Linked DNA regions of Homo sapiens: regions 2 and 3 are each linked to region 1. The links are contacts of gene promoters, found by promoter capture Hi-C in human tissues and cell types (Jung and others, 2019). All regions are on one chromosome and are shown on one strand. The core of a region is centred on a gene start or on the middle of the fragment in contact, and the rest is flanking DNA. Distances in the headings are between cores, read along the strand shown. Region 1 holds the start of GNAI1 (G protein subunit alpha i1). Region 2 has its middle 80 kb from the start of GNAT3. Region 3 has its middle 32 kb from the start of CD36.

Region 1 (2,700 bases), core at 64-2,563:
GAAATTGCATCTCATCAGCCCAGCAGGTGGTGTGACTCCCATAGGAGAACAGGAAAGGACATGTCCCATAAGGAGGCAACTCAGTCTCTGCTAGCTCACAAGCGTGGTCTCAGTGACCTACTCGAAAGCTATTCTGCTTGTATCATCAGTTCAGCCTCACCTTGGAAAACTCAAGCCCAGTTTTCCCAAATGATTTTTAGAGAATAAGATTTCCAGATGAAAACCAGGGAGCATGTTCCAATTTTTAGTACATCAAGGACCATGTTTTTCCTTGCTACCAGCCCCATTTTCTAATCAGTTAACGCTTCCTGTGATATCTGTAGGGGAAAGGTGTAGTGCAACTGACAGGGAGAGATGAGATCTTAAGCCTCTGCTCATTCATTGGGTGCTGAGTAGCAATGCCTCCCGCGGGCCACAGGAACTTATCTCCGCCGATTGTTACAGCTGGAAGGATGGGGAGATAGCACCATAGATCCACTCCTCATTTTATGGGCAAAGAAGCTAAGGCCTGTAAAAATGGCATGCCCAATGGTACAGGAGTTACAAACACGGTCATAAATATTGGCTCCAAATTTGGCATGGAAGCTTATGTGCTGCTCTAGAGGAGATCTGCTACGATGTGGAGATTGGCTTGTGTGGGTGTGTTTTATTGCTCTTGTCATTTAAAAATACTTTTGATTATTTGTCTTCCATTTTTTTTAGGTTACGAGGAAATCCTTCAAAATGCGTTCTTGTGAAAAACGTGAGAGTGCAAGGAAAGAGGGAGGGATAGGAAGAAGGAAAGAGAAGCAAAAGGTAGGAAGAAAGTGACCTTGGTGCCCTTTTCTAGTCCCCTCCCCCGACTTTCCTGTTCTCCACTGTGCCCATCTCTGGTTTCACCAGGCTCCATTCCTTCCCCAGTTCCCTGTTTCTCACGGCCCTGAAACCAGCCGACAGGGATTTGCATTTTGAAAAACCTTGCGTGGCTGCCGGCGCTGGGCATGCTCAAACGCCCAGAACTGGCTTTTTTCGGCAACTTTGGCAGCTCTCCCACCCCCACCCGAAGGGGCAGGTACGCACAGCTCCCTCCGTGTGAGTAAACGGAAAGAAATTACCCCACTCCCGCCCAGGGCAGAAGGCCACAGCCCCGCGGGGCAGTGGCGCGCCCCGGGGACGCTGCCAGGGGGCGCCAGGCCCTCAGTGGTGGCGCGGCGCCGGGGTCCGGGGCCGGGGGGCGCTGTCCGAGGGCACGTGCGCGGGCGCGCGCTCTGGGAGTGGTCGCGGGGTGGTGGGAGGGGCGGGCAGGGGCGGGGCCGCGGCGGCGCGCGGAGGCCGAGCTCGGCTGGGCTTGGCGAGGCTGCGGCGCGGCCACCGGCGGGAGTGCAGCGGCCACTGTACCCAGAGATTCAAAACCCCAAACCCGGGACTTGGGGGCGCTGAGCCGGGCCGGGAAGCAGAGCCTGGTCGTGAGGAACAGCCGCCCGTTGCTGTCTGCCCCTTTGCGGACAGCGTCTCCCTCGACTCCGCTTAGGAAGTGGTGGGGGCGGCGTGGCCCCCGTCGGGAGGCGTTCGAACGCCCGCTAGGAGAGAGAAAGGATTCCCCTGTGCTTGGAGCCCGCACTCGGGCGCGGAGGGAGCGGCGGCAGGCTCTCGCTTTCGGCACCATGGGCTGCACGCTGAGCGCCGAGGACAAGGCGGCGGTGGAGCGGAGTAAGATGATCGACCGCAACCTCCGTGAGGACGGCGAGAAGGCGGCGCGCGAGGTCAAGCTGCTGCTGCTCGGTAAGGGCGGCCGGGTCGGGGCCCGGGGGTCGGCGGGGGACCGGGTGCGGCGCTGCGCGGCCCTCGGCGTTTGGAAACCCGGAGGGAAGGGGGAGGAAGCGCCCGAGGAGGCTTCTGAGCGGGAGCTGGGTCCGGCGGTGCGGAGGCAAGGCGGGTCCCCCTCTCCCGGTGTCTGGTCTCTCTCCGCCCCGGCGGGCGAGGACTCCCCGCGGCGGGGCGGGCGCGTCACTTCACTCGGATGCTTTCGTGCGACCCAGCAAAGAGCCCAGGCGCGAGTCCGAGGCGGCGGGTCGCGTGGAAACCCTTTGCTTTGAAGTTTAGCTCAGCCTTGTAAAGATGAAGGGGCATTCGCGGCTAGAAAATGAAAACACCCCCCCCCCCGCGCCACCAACCCCCTCCCGGAAAACCCTTCTTCGTGTGCGGTGTAGGTTGTGTTTCGACTGTGGTTTTCTCATGCCCAGAGTGCCACGTTTGGTGAAATCAGTGCACCTTTTGTGGGGCCTCTGAGATGGGGCTGAAGCGTCTTTCCTGTTAACTTCCTATGGCGACTCCTTAAGTGGTCAAGGAGCGCTGATTACATTCCCCCTGCGCTGAGAAAAGGCTGCGCTGGATGCTTGATTTTTCTTGCTGTGGGGGCATGGAAGCCACCCAAGTGGGGTTGGGAAGCTTTGCTTTAGTAGTAGGCAAGGCAGATACTCGAGTGGTGAAAACTGCTGTGAAAGAGCGAGAGGGTCACGCCAGACAACAGGGTTCTGTCTCCGCTGCCACCGTTTCTGATGAATGAGATTTGCCAGGTACACGCAAGGCTTTTATTTGTTCTTAGCACTGTTCTGTTCGTGAAACGCTACGTGGAGGTCTTTTCCAAATGTTTGACGGGGAAGAAAATAAAGAGTAAACCAGGGTTTTCACTGAGGGAAGCATTAGGAAAATCTTTACAGG
Region 2 (2,700 bases), core at 1-2,500, 300 kb after region 1:
GAGCCCCCCTACCCCCCACCAGAAATGTCAGGTGACCATCAAGTGATGGTGAAGTGGTTGTTACCTGTCTCTCTAAGATAATTGGCCACAGCCAACACCAGGAAAAGGCAGTCTCCCAATTAACACAAAAAACCTGAAACTAGGGATCAGCAGCTTCCTGATAAGATCTTAGGAGTTAGGCAAGTGGGCTCAAGCACACACATTAAGAGGCAAAATGGTAGAGTTTAACTGGTGTATGGCCTTCTAGTGATATTCAGCTGGTAAGGGAAGAACGCCTCAAATGAGCATGCATATAGTTTCACTAAAAACACTGTGCATGCTCCTCTCCCAAGTGCTGGCAGGACACTGTGCATGTGGACAGCCCACCCAAAGGGAAGAATCAGGGGAGAAGGGACACATGACCCCAGATGAATGCCAACATATAAAACCCCAAGTCAAAGGTCATACAGGGCCCTTGACTCTCTCAACTCACCTGCTCAGCCCTCTTTCAAGTATACTTTCGTTCCTGTTCTAAACTTTTTAATAAACTTTCACTCCTACTCTAAAACTTGCCTCAGTCTCTCCTTCTACCTTATGCCCCTCAGTCAAATTCTTTCTTCTGAGGAGCAAGAATTGAGGTTGCTGCAGACCTGTATGGATTCACTGCCAATAACATCGTTGGTAAATTCTTCTTACTACCTGTGATTAACCATTTTCTGTTGCTGAGGCTCTGACACCTCACCTGGAACCAGTGACACAGCCTCAGGAGGTCCTGACACGTGCTCAGGGTGATTGGGCTACCGCTTGGTTTTATACATTTTAGGGAGATATGAGACATCAATTAATACATGTAAGATGTATATTGGTTGAGTCCAGAAAGGCAGGACAACTCGAAGCAAGGGCTTCCAGGTCATAGGTGGATTCAAGAATTTTCTAATTGGCAATTGGTTTAAAGAGTTAAGTTATTGACTAAAATCAATAGGAAGGAATGTCTGGGTTGAGATAAGAGTTTATGGACAGCGAGGTTCCCATTATGCAGATAGAATCCGTGGAAGGGAATATTTCTTACCAGTCTTAAAGAGTCTGTTCTATCAGTCTTAAGGCCTCTGTTTTCATGTTAATGTTGGTCAACTGTGCTTGAATTCCAAAGGGAGAAGGGTATAATGAGGCATGTCAGACCCTCATTTCCCATCATGGCCTGAACTAGTTTTTCAAATTAACTTTAGAATGCCTTTGGCTGTGAGGAGGAGTCTGTTCAGTTGGTTGGGAGGCTTAGAATTTTGCTTTTGGTTTACTTCTAATAAAGTTTTTGGATTTTTTATAATTTAGTTGAGGTGTAATTGAATTGAAATACAATAAGCTGCATATATTTAAAGTATATAATTTAATTTGCTGTGACATCTGTATATGTCTGTGTAACCCTCACCTTAATAAGGATAACAAGAATTTCCATAACTCTGAAAAGTTTCCTTGTGCCCCTTGCAACTCATCCCTTCTTCTGCCTTGTCCCAAGGCAATCACTAACTTGCTTTCAGTCATTACCACTTTCTTCACAAGAATTTGTAAGTGGACTCACACAATTTGTAGAAGGTATAAGAATGGTGAATAAGCAGATGAAAATTTCAATGTTTGTAGTCATCAGGGAAATGAAAACTAAAACTACAATGAGAGTAATATATGCTTATTTGAATTAATAAAATGTAAAAGGTTGATGACCAAACCATGTGTTGGCAGGGTGAAGCAACTGAAATTTTCATACATGGGTGTGGGAATGTAAAATGGTACAGCCGCTTTGGGAAACAGTTTGACCATTTCTTCAAAAGTTAGATACACCTGTCATATGACCCAGTCACTCCACTCCAGAGCATTTACTCAAGATAAGTGAAAACATGTCACGCCAATACTTTTACATGGATATTCATAGCAGCTTTATTTGTAATAGCCCCAAACTTGAAACAACTCAAATGTCAATCAGTATGTGCATGGATAAATAAATTATGGCATATCAATACAATGGAATATTGCACAGTAATAAAAAGAATGAACTATTGACACATGCCAGCAACAGGGCTGAATCCCAAAGTGTGTACATTTTTAAAGCTTTCCTGCCTTTAAATCAGAGGTTTTCAGTGAGGGAGAGTGAAGAGGCAAAAAAGGAAGAAGGGAGATCTGGCTTATTGTAATCATGTAAAGACTTTTTCCCTAAATGTACACACAAGATTGATTCCATGGAGTATATCAGGCAGAGAAAAACAGAAAGAATGCTAATATATTTGCAACTTCTTTCCTTGTCTCCCTTCCTCCATGGAAATGTCAAACATGGGAAAAGGAGAACTAGATATATTTAACTTTCTTGGCAAGTCTTTTGTCAAACTACACAGCTTTCAGCTTTTCTTAGGCCAAATGAATCCTAGATATTGACAGCATGAAAATATCCATGATTTTTAAGTATTTCTCCAAAATAGGAGAGACCCATGATGAATAATAGATAGGAAACCCTATTGAGCAAATAGATTTACTAGAATTTCCAGGCCCACATAGACCAAGCAAACCTGAGAGCCACAGTCCATTTTCTTTTAAGTAATATTACTTTGTAGTTGTTCTAGGAAGTAATATTACCCAAAAGAAAAAAGAAGAAACATCATGAGTTAATGCAACTTTGAGCTATCTAAGGGATAACAAAATCATTCTAGTCTTTTTATTAAGACTTTTACTTCCCTA
Region 3 (2,700 bases), core at 141-2,640, 470 kb after region 1:
ATCTGTAGTATGGACTCTAAGCTTTAGGATTGATAACTTCCTAAAATTATTTCTTCTTGAACTATTTCATCTGAAATGGGGAATAAATACTAGTCTTGATTTTATCTTGGTCTCCTGGGAAGACCTTTAATTTCTATTAGCCCCATCCTTTTAAGAGCTGTTTGGGCAATAGGTACATCTAAGCAGATGCATAGACAAAGAATTACAGTGCAGAAAGGTATGAGCTGTGATAAGCTTAATATACAGGGATAAGAGCATTCCTTACAGACCTTTGCTATTGCCTAGAGTTGGAGCATCTTGCCGGCATATAAACTCCATAAAGGTAATGGAGCTATTCCATTTGTAACTACTTGTGTTAGTAACAGCAATGTCCCAGTACCTGACTCATACATAATAAGCACTCAATAGAGAGATTTTATTCATTTATTTAAAATATTGTCTAAATATTTCCTAAATCAAAATATTCATCTTCTACTAAGGACTATGACTAAAATTTTAAGAATTTTGAATCACGTAAATAACTTAGATACATTTCTTTCTTATGTTTAGCACTTTTTCTAAAAATATCCAAATTGATGTAGAGCTCTACTGTAACATAATACGTAGATCTGTGCAACTTTTTTTTTTGTATTAAATTCTCAGGTAGGTAGTTTAATGGAATGTTACTACTGCTGTTCTTCCCAGCATGTCTGGCTGGGTTTGTTTATTTTTACAATATAGGACAGATCCTCTACTCACAAAATGAATTATGGGATTTAATAGAGAAATATTCTATAATTTACAAGACGCTAAATATATAAACTCACAGATGCTGAGAATGTCTCAGTGAATCAATTCATGAAGCTCATTCATTTCACCTAATGCCTCTCAATGATGTCCTAGTCCTTTTCCCCAGTCTGCATGCAAAACTTAGATGTGCTTGCTACTGTGCTCAGTCTCTTAGATGTCTTTGCCGCATGTACTGAGTTTTGGATGAAGCCAGAGAGAAACATTTAGCTCAGTCCATTTCACTCTGGGTCCGAGGGTCATCTTGGAGATTTGCTAATCTTTCCTCCAGGAAAGGGTTGTGATTTCTCCACTTTTCACTTCATGAACAACCACAGCATGCACAGTACTGTTCTTTGCTAGCCTAGTCACGTATCCCCTCAAAACCCTCTCTGAAATTGGGGGATGGTTACCAGCTGGTGGTAAAAGTACAGGCATCACCCATTTTCTTTCTCCATCCCTTAGTTCCTTTCTGACCTAGACAGCTGCTTGAATGTTCCTTCCCCTTCAGTCTTCCAATCTTTGTGTATTTTATCCTTGTACTGCAGCTCTGTTATAATCATTCAACAAAATTCTATATGGTTTACCAGCTGAAGTTGGGAAACACAGGATTAAACAAAGTGAAAAATAAATCCTATTATTAAGAGGCAAACAGGATGCTTACTATAATTCCTCCCATTATCTTCTCCACTCCATTAATATTCCTCTTGAGTATTAAAGGTAGCATTTTGTTCTGTCAACTCTCCCATGCAAAACTTCTGTACATAGTAACAGCAAGAGAGTTTCTGAAGCTGAAATCCTGTAGAATAAATAAAAGCAACTGAAACAATCTGAATGGTCCTTTGAAAAAAAGAAGAAAAAGAAAAGCACTTAATTATTTACCATGGCAAAGCAACAGCTATGAAGCTTGCCTTTTCTTTTTTTCTGAGGCTTAGGGCTGGACGTCTACTTTCAGCTGCTCTGCCAAAGTTTACATTTTTTTCATAGCAAAAGCTACAAATAGGAGAAGTGGGGATAGTTTTTAGCACACTCTAAAACTAAGATCTACTGATTTTTTACAAATAAGGACATGGAGGCTTGTAGAAGTTAGTGACCTTTTATGCCTTTGTCTAGCCATATTGCTTTCCTCAGTTTCCATTTCTGCAGATTTTCTAGGTTCCCATTCCCCATCCCCCACTTTCTAAGTGATATTATCAATTTTCATGACTTCACCTGTAATCTGAATGTTGAGGAGACCCCAATCTACATCTTAGGGCTCCAATCACTCTTCTCAACTTCAGACCCATGTATCTCCATGCCAGTAGGTCAAGTTCTCAAGCTGAAAGTATCTAAACTCTTTTTGTTGTTGTTGTTGTTGTCATTGTTGAGACTGAGTCTCACTCTGTCGCCCAGGCTGGAGTACGGTGGTGCAATTTCGGCTCACTGCAACCTCCTCCTCCCAGGTTCAAGCGATTCTCCTGCCTCATCCTCCCGAGTGCTGGGACTACAGGTGCCTGCTGCCTCGCCCAGCTAATTTTCTGTATTTTTGGTAGACATGGGGTTTCACTGTGTTAGCCCGGATGGTCTGCATCTCCTGACCTCGTGATCCGCCCGCCTCGGCCTCTCAAAGTGCTGGGATTACAGGCGTGAGCCATATAACCTTGTTAATGTGTTCTGATTCAAGATGTACATTTTTATGTTCAAAATTAAATTATAATCCCCAAATGAGTGTCTTTTACTAGGCTTGAATTTATCCCAGCATTCAATAATATATATGCATATAACATATCCCCTGCAAATTATTTTAAAATAAAATGGTTAAATTTTAATAGCTATTTATTATCTATGTGGTACCTGCAAAGCACTCTAAAAATAATTATGCAAAGTGCCTAGTATTTAATGAGAAGTAAATTACTGGTTGAGGCATACTCTCTAGTGTTAGACTGCATATGTTTG

The links. Contacts are between HindIII fragments. The study calls those that stand out against the background at their distance.
Region 2: a fragment that was not itself captured here is called in contact with the fragment with the promoter of GNAI1 in region 1 in 3 of the 25 tissues and cell types used here (IMR-90 fibroblasts, lymphoblastoid cells and mesendoderm cells).
Region 3: a contact is called between a fragment that was not itself captured here and the fragment with the promoter of GNAI1 in region 1, in 3 of the 25 tissues and cell types used here (IMR-90 fibroblasts, aorta and mesenchymal stem cells).

The regions. Positions count from the first base shown.
Region 1 is chr7:80,133,518-80,136,217 of GRCh38, forward strand. It overlaps GNAI1 (G protein subunit alpha i1), which reads left to right and starts at 1,314. Exons shown (of 8, transcript NM_002069.6): 1 at 1,314-1,761. The coding sequence starts at 1,644. The HindIII fragment of the contact is 3,503 bases long and covers 1-1,506 here.
Region 2 is chr7:80,430,740-80,433,439 of GRCh38, forward strand. No RefSeq gene overlaps it. Among named protein-coding and RNA genes, the nearest start is that of GNAT3, 80 kb to the right of the region's middle. The HindIII fragment of the contact is 5,075 bases long and covers 1-2,700 here.
Region 3 is chr7:80,605,660-80,608,359 of GRCh38, forward strand. It overlaps a transcript of CD36 not described here. Among named protein-coding and RNA genes, the nearest start is that of CD36, 32 kb to the right of the region's middle. The HindIII fragment of the contact is 5,690 bases long and covers 1-2,700 here.